Linked DNA regions of Homo sapiens: region 1 is linked to region 2. Evidence: promoter capture Hi-C in 16 types of primary human blood cells and fetal thymus (Javierre and others, 2016). All regions are on one chromosome and are shown on one strand. Each heading gives the region's core, a stretch centred on a gene start or on the middle of the fragment in contact. The rest is flanking DNA. Distances are from core to core; before and after follow the strand shown.

Region 1 (3,557 bases), core at 447-2,946, 210 kb after region 2:
TCTCAAATGCCGAAATTCTTTTTTTTTTTTTTTTTTTTTTGAGACGGAGTCTCACTCTGTTGCCCAGGCTGGAGTGCGGTGGCGCGATCTTGGCTCACTTCAACCTCTGCCTGCTGGGTTCAAGCAATGAGCAATGAGCCACTGTGCCCGGCCTCGACTGCCTTCTTATTTCTGCGATTGCCACCAGATGCTGCTGCTGCAAACAAGTCCCGCTCAGCCAGAGGCCACCCCTGCCGTGGCTGCGCTGTAGTCACCGTGGATCTGGCTATAGTTTGATGCAGTAATACGGGAGCTAAAAAGAAATTACTTAGGCAGTTGGTGAGGGTAAGAGAGTCCTCGGTAAGGCATCCCTTTTAACAAAAAGCAGCCCCCACATCATTTCTTTTCTAACAAAGAGCAGCCTGTAAAATCGAGCTGCAGACATTGACAGGCAAGCTGGAAGCTTGAACGGGTGAATGGCGGCAGCCGTGCCAATCGGAAAAGGCTACCTGGGGCCAGGCATGTTCAACATGGAGGCTTCATCTTCCCTTTTCCTTATCAACCACCTGTACAGTAAAGGAAGCAGCAACATGATGCCAACCAGGTAGAGAATCCATTTGCATAATAAAAGATTAGGGTGGGGCGGCCAGCTTCTTCTTGCACTATGTAAATGGCATACCTGGTCCCGCAATCTTTTGGGCTCTGTGTAAATCAGACACTGCCTGGCCGGGTGGGTGCGGCGGCTCTCGCCTATAATCCCAGCACTTTGGGAGGCTGAGCCGGGTGGATCACCTGATGTCAGGAGTTTGAGACCAGCCTGACCAACATGGTGAAACCCCGTCTCTACTAAAAATACAAAAATTAGCCGGGCGTGGTGTGCATGCCTGTAATTCCAGCTACTCGGGAGGCTGAGGCAGGAGAATCCCTTGAACCTGGGAGGCAGAGGTTGCGGTGAGCCGAGATCGTGCCACTGCACTCCAGCCTGGGCAACAAGAGCGAAACTCTGTCTCAAAAACAAAACAAAACAAAACAAGGCAAAACCTCCAAATCAGACACTGCCTCCTCAAGCTCACCTATAACACCCAGTGCATTTCACCTCGGAGCCAGAAGACCGACTTGGGAGCCCCTCCCTCTCTGCAGGAGAGAGAGCTTTTCTTTCTCTTGCCTATTAAACCTCTGCTCTTAAACTCACTCGTCGTGTGTGCCTGCATCCTCAATTTCCTTGGCATGAGACGATGAACCTTGGGTATTACCTCAGACAACGAGCTTCAAAAGCTTAATGGAACAGACCGTCTACCCCTGTTGTGCCCTGCTTAGCTCTGTCCCGGAAGCCACTAGGCACCTAGGCTGTGACAGTTTCAGTCTTTAACCCCCAATGACAGCTTGCTCAGGGCACACCCAGTCCCTCCTTAGTGCTGCTGAGCAACTGCACCGTGTCCTCGGGCTCCAGAGGAAAAAACACTTCAGTTCATAGCCCTGCTCAGCAGAGGTCCTCAAAGCACATCTTCTCAGCCTCTATCTGGTGAGGGGGCACCTTCAGCCTGTGCCAAACGCGGCTTCCCTCACAAACCCTACCAGGCCTTAGCACTGATACAGGATTCTAGGGACTGAATGTTTCTGTCCTCCCCACCCCGGATTCATAGGTGGAAGCCCTACTCCACAGTGTGATGATATTTGGAGGTGGGGCCTTTGGGAGATAATTACATTTAGATGAGGTTGTGAGGGTGGGGTCCCCACGATAGGATTTGTGCCCTTGTTGGAAGAGAAGGAGGCCAGAGTGTGCTCTCTCATCCACGTGAGGACACAGCAAGAAGGTGGCTGTCTGTAAACCAGGAAGTGAGCCCTCCCCAGACACTGGATCTGCCGGTACCTTCACCTTGGGCTTCCTAGCCTCCAGAACTGTGAGAAAGAAATGTTTTTTTTTTGTTTAAGCCATTCAGTCCGTGGTGTTTTGCAATGGCAGTGCAAGCTGACTAAGACACAGGGTCACTTGTTCTATTTCCTCTTCAGTCATGATGGGCTTCCCTCGGGCCCTTTGGTGCCTTTCCCCGTCAGTGGACTTCAGCTAGAGCCTCTGTTCATCACAGAGGTTCTAAGGACATTAGATCTCCAAAAGAAAGGGACTAGGGTCTCAAATTTCTTTGCTTCACAGAAGCTTTTTGGCCCCACCTTTCAGTGACCTGTCTGCAAACCAAAACTGGCAAAGAAGGGCAGTCTCCCCTGAGCCACTGGAGAAGTCCTGCCTCCCCTGCCTGGGGTAGGCGACGGCTGGCTTCCCACTTAAACAGTTAAGGGGAGCTGCTCAGTGCTTACAAAGTCATTTGCTAACTTGCCTAGACAAAGAAGTTATTAGTAACTTTTACATGTCAGCTTGGGTAAACAAAACAAGTTTAAGTTCCTGTAATCAGGCAGCATGTTTTTATTATTATTATTATTATTTTATTATTTGAGATGAAGTATTGCTCTGTCGCCCAGGCTGGAGTGCAGCGGTGCAATCTCGGCTCACCACAAGCTCCGCCTCTCAGGTGCACACCATTCTCCTGTCTCGGCCTCCGGAGTAGCTGGGACTACCGGCGTCCGCCACCACGCCCGGCTAATTTTTTTGTATTTTTAGTAGAGACGGGGTGTTTCACCGTGTTAGCCTGGATGGTCTCCATCTGCTGACTTCGTGATCTGCCCACCTCAGCCTCCCAAAGTGCTGGGATTACAGGCGTGAGCCACCGCGCCTGGCCACCATGTTTTATTATTAAAAGTTAATGGGGGCCGGGCATGGTGGCTCACGCCTGTAATCCCAGCACTTTGGGAGGTCGAAGCGGGCGCATCACCTGAGGTCAGGAGTTCGAGACCAGCCTGGCCAACGTGGTGAAACTCTGTCTCTACTAAAAACACCAAAATTAGCCGGGCATGGTGGTGGGTGCCTGTGGTCCCAGCTACTTGGAAGGCTGAGGGGGAAGAACTGCTTGCACTTGGAAAGCAGAGATTACAGTGAGCCAACATCGCGCCATTGCACTCCAGCCTGGGCGACAGAGTGAAACTCCATCTCAAAAACAAAACAAAAAAAGTTAATGGGAAGAAAAGCTATAGCCAGCAAAGGTCACAGGCAGGCTGGGTGGCTATGAGACCCCTCAGAGAGGCTGGGGCTGGGAAGGGGTGTAGGGAGGGTAGATTACATTCAGACTGACTCATGCTTACCTCAGGCTGTGAGATCCCAGCCCTCTGGGCAGATCCTGAGTCTGGAGCAGGCTTGGCTTATACCAGGTGGGGCTGGGAGACCCCTCCAGCAGGTCCCTGGAGGCCATGGCAGATGTAGCTGGGCCCAGAGCATTACATGCCATGAATGGGAGGAGAGCCGCCGTTCTGTTTGATTTTCTCTCAGCTCTCCTGTCCTTCTCAGCAAAATTAGTTTGAGCCTCTGCCTCAAAACTTGCAAAGTGAGGCTCTGAAACCCCGTCAGTGAAGATATGCTCGCATTTGGTCTTTAAGGAAATAGCTCTGAGGGACTCTCGAGGCAGTCTGTGAAGGAGGCAGGCTGCCAAGACACCGTAGGGTGATGCTGGGGGAAGAATCATCACTGGTAA
Region 2 (3,867 bases), core at 264-2,763:
CTCCTCCCCACAGTCAAACTGAGAACAGCATCCTCAGTGCCGGACAAAGCGCAGAGACCTGGAGTTGAGCAGGTCTTCGGGGTCGGGGAAGACAGAGTCTAGTCGGAAGCCGTGCTCGAGAGCCACCCGCAGCACCTCCTCCAGGAAGCTTGGGGTGCCCACCACCTCCCGCCGCTCTCCTGGCCCCCCAGTCCACAGCGGCTGCAGCCCCAGTCTCCCATACTCCACCTCGGGGAGTTCCACGGGGCGGGGGGCCCACTCCAGATGAAAATGTGGGCTCCCCTCTGCCCTATCCCCACTGGCCACACCAAATCGGGCCCGCAAAGCACCTAGACACTCAGAGTCGGTGCAGAAAAGGTTGGCTCGGAAGGTGTCCACCTGGACGGAGCTCAGCTCATAGTGATGGGGTCCCCGGCGAGCAGAGAAGTGCACCAGGCGGGGGCTGACATCTACATCTGCGTGGAGCAGGGCAGCTGTGGGTGCAGGGGTCCCCTGAGAGGCCTCCAGTTCCCGCAGCGCGTCCAGGAGGGGCCGGATCTGGTAGAAGTCAGCCTCTGCCCTGAGCAGCGCTGTCTCTCCGTACCCACGGGGCAGGTCCAGGCGGCCCAGCCTCAGGAAATTGAGGATGTGCCGGAAGGCCTTGCCATCCCGGTCGATGAAGTAGTGGCCGCCTCCTTGGGAATTGAGGTTGGGGGGCATGGGGGTGCCGGCCCTAAACATGGCCCCCAGCATAGAGTCTGGGAAGCGGGTCAGGGTCTCCAAAGTGGTGGAATATAGTGTGCCCCCCACATTCAGGGTCACGGGGCCCCCAAAGGAGGGGGGCGAAGAGGGCACAGGAGGAGGAGAAATTTTGGGAAGTACAGGAGACACCGAAAGAAAAGAAAAGGCAGAACTTCCTGGGTGTGTGCAGAATTGGGTCGAAGCTGTCAGATTCGCTGGGTTGGAGGCACAGGTGGAGCACACCCAGTAAGGTTTGGGGCTCACCCCGGCTACTTTGGTGGTGGATGGGGAGGTGGTGTCAGGACACAGAAATCCCCAAAAGGTTGAGAGAAGAGATGAAAAGAGCAGAGGGCAGCCAGAGAGGGGAAGGGAGCTTGAGGTCTGGACGTATCCGATTTGGGGTGGTCAGCGACACCCCTCTGTGGTCTTCAGACAGTGGGTTTCCGGAATCCAACCAGCAGGTGACGGTGGCGAGCACAGGGCCGACTCTGAAGGGATGGCCTCCGAGACCCCGGGCAGATCGCTGCCGCCGTGGACGAGTCCAGCCAGGGCTCTGGGGCCACTCAGAGGCCTGGCCTGGCTGCCGGCGCGGGTCCCAGGAGATGGAGGCCGAACTGACGGGAGCGGATGGCGGAGCCCCCTTGTATCCGCCGGGGAGCGACGATGCGTGCTCAGCCCGGGCTGGGAGTGTCCGAGGGCTCTGATGGAAACAGCCAGGAGTTTCGGGACCCGGCCGCGCCGCCTTCCCTGGGTGTCGCCGCAGCCGCTGAGGTCCTCTCCGCCCCCAGGAAGTGGCCTAAGGGCAGCGGCCCGGGGCCCTTTAAGAGACAGCCCCGCCCCTTGGCGCCCCGCCCCCGCCCCCGCGAGGCTCGCGCGGCCCGGGCGGAGGTGGGAGGCTGGAGGCGAGTCTCGGACGCGAGAGACTGGGCGGACTGGCTGGACTGGCAGACGCTGGCGGGACGGGGTGACTCAGGCACGTCGCCCCGGATGTGGCCACGACCGCCCCGCCGCCGCTCAGGTGTGCCCGATCTCACGTCTGCAAGTCGGCGGGGCTGGAGCCTCTAATCCCACCGCTCAGAGCCCGAGGCCCGGCCGGCCCAGCCCGGGAGCCGAGTCCCTCCCAGCGGCTCCCCCGGGGAATTCCCGAGGGGGCGGGTGCTGAGCCGCCGCATTCCGGGGATGCCTTCCAGCCGGGGTGGCCCGGGCGCGCTCTCTCCGCGGCGGCGCGGGGCCAGCGAGCCCCAGGGCCAGCCCCACCCCTCGGCAGGACTGGGCTGGCCACGTCGCCCCAGCCCGAGAGCCCCCGCCCCGCAGCGCCCTGCGCTCAGGCCGCGGCCGAAGCTGCCGCCTCGCTCCCCGGAGTCGCACCTTGCTGGACTGGAGCTCGCAAACCCCCAGCTGCTCCCCGCACCTCGGGAGCCGCAGCGCCCAACACCCTACGGGCCCGAAGGTGGCGCCCAAGAAGTGAACCAGAAGGGAAGAGCGAAGCACGGAGGCTTTAATGGCAGAGGGCCCGGTGGCGGGGAAGGGAGGCAGGCGCGGGCCCCGTGGGCCTCGGGTCACAGCGTGTGGAGGTCATGACTGCGACGGCTCAGCTTCTCCGGGTCGTCTGACGCCATGAGGGAGAAGTCGCGGAAGATGTCAAGATACGTCTCATCTCCTGGGGGAGGGAGGAAAGGCCGGGAGGCGGCTGGGCCCCAGTGCAGAAGGGCAGGATCCGGCGGTTGGGGCCCACCTGGGGACCTCGCGCTCCGAGCCTGGGTGGGAACGTGCGCGCCGCGGGCACTGCGCCAGCACCTATGCCTTGCCAGGGCCTGGCACGTCGCATGCGCCCAATACGCATTTGTTAAATAACGGAATGAATGCAGCTGGGCACTAGGGAGAGAGGTCACCGTGGACCAGAAGCCCAGAGTTCAGGTGTTGGGCCTGGGGGGTGGGGTGGGTGTATTCTTTACCTGCCTGCCCCTGGGCCGCTTCAGCCTCCCTCATCTTTGCCAGTCGTAGCCTGAAGAGGAGGGAATTAAGAAATGAACGACACTATCTTTGGCCGGGCGCGGTGGCTCACGCCTGTAATCCCAACACTTTGGGAGGCCGAGGCAGGCGGATCACGAGGTCAGGAGATCGAGACCGTCCTGGCCAACATGGTGAAACCCCGTCTCTACTAAAAATACAAAAAATTAGCCGGGGGTGGTGGCGCACGCCTGTAGTCCCAGCTACTCAGGGGAGGCTGAGACAGGAGAATCGCTTGAACCCGGGAGGCGGGGGTTGCAGTGAGCCGAGATCGCGCCCCTGCACTCTAGCCTGGGCGACAGAGTGAGACTCCGTCTCAAAAAAAAAAAAAAAGACTATCCTCACCTCCCCCACAACTTCCCATCCTTTGAGCTGGGTTGCGTTCCGTTCATCTGCCCCCACCCCCGGGGTCACGTCTAGTGCTAAAAAGATGCCTGACAGCAATGTTGATGGGCGAATTACGCCTCTCAGGGTGGGCCAAGCATCCTTGCACCCTGCCCGCCCTCCCGCCTGCCTTCTACTCCACGTCCCAGTGCACACTTCGCGCAGCCTTTCTCGAGCCTGGCCCCGGCGCTGGCCCAGCCCCTTTCCGAGGCCCCACAGCACAGGCTTCTGTTTCGGCGTCAGCCCCGCCCGCCCGCCCGAACGTGGGTGGGCGGGGGTGGGGGGAGTCCCAGCGCCAGCCCCGCCCCTTCAGGCATTCTTACAGGGTGACGATGTCAGCGTTGGCTGTTTCCATGGCGATGGTCAGAGGGTCCCTGCCTTCAGAGTCTCGAGCCCCCAGATCAGCTCCCCGTTTCAGGAACAGGCAGGCGAGCCTGGAGAGAAGAGCCAGGGTCAGCCGGCCGCCCAACTTCTCCCAGCCTTCCTCCCCATGCCATCATCCCTACCCCGTGTGGCCAAGAATGGTTGCGTGGTGCAGCGGGCCCCGGCCCGCACTGTCCGCTTGGTTCACGTTCGCCCCGTTCTGGAGGAGAAACTCACAGGCCAGAAGAGAATTCTGCATGGAGAAGTCGAGAAGGGGGGTTGAGGGTGGCATCCCTAGTGGTGGATTTCAAGATGTCTTAGGGTGGCGCCAGTTCAGAGAATGGGAGGGTGGAGTGTGGTAATCAGGAGTGTGGAAGGGGTTACAGCTAA

The links. Contacts are between HindIII fragments. The CHiCAGO score rates a contact against its expected background, and 5 or more counts as called.
Region 1: a fragment that was not itself captured here is called in contact with the fragment with the promoter of KCTD11 in region 2 in 3 of 17 cell types (M0 macrophages, M2 macrophages and naive B cells); the score reaches 8.1 in M0 macrophages.

Annotation. Positions count from the first base shown.
Region 1 is chr17:7,137,413-7,140,969 of GRCh38, reverse strand. LOC105371512 (a long non-coding RNA gene) reads right to left here. Exons shown (of 3, transcript XR_934191.3): 2 at 3,172-3,557; 3 at 207-292. It also overlaps the pseudogene RPL7AP64. Among named protein-coding and RNA genes, the nearest start is that of ASGR2, 24 kb to the right of the region's middle. The HindIII fragment of the contact is 880 bases long and covers 1,257-2,136 here.
Region 2 is chr17:7,349,808-7,353,674 of GRCh38, reverse strand. KCTD11 (potassium channel tetramerization domain containing 11) reads right to left here and starts at 1,513. Exons shown (of 1, transcript NM_001363642.1): 1 at 1-1,513. The coding sequence starts at 849. The coding sequence ends at 34. It overlaps ACAP1 (ArfGAP with coiled-coil, ankyrin repeat and PH domains 1), which reads right to left. Exons shown (of 22, transcript NM_014716.4): 19 at 3,621-3,730; 20 at 3,438-3,548; 21 at 2,676-2,725; 22 at 2,198-2,380. The coding sequence ends at 2,280. RefSeq lists silencers at 1,435-2,204, 2,255-2,314, 2,385-2,444, 3,325-3,464 and an enhancer at 3,715-3,804. The HindIII fragment of the contact is 3,784 bases long and covers 151-3,867 here.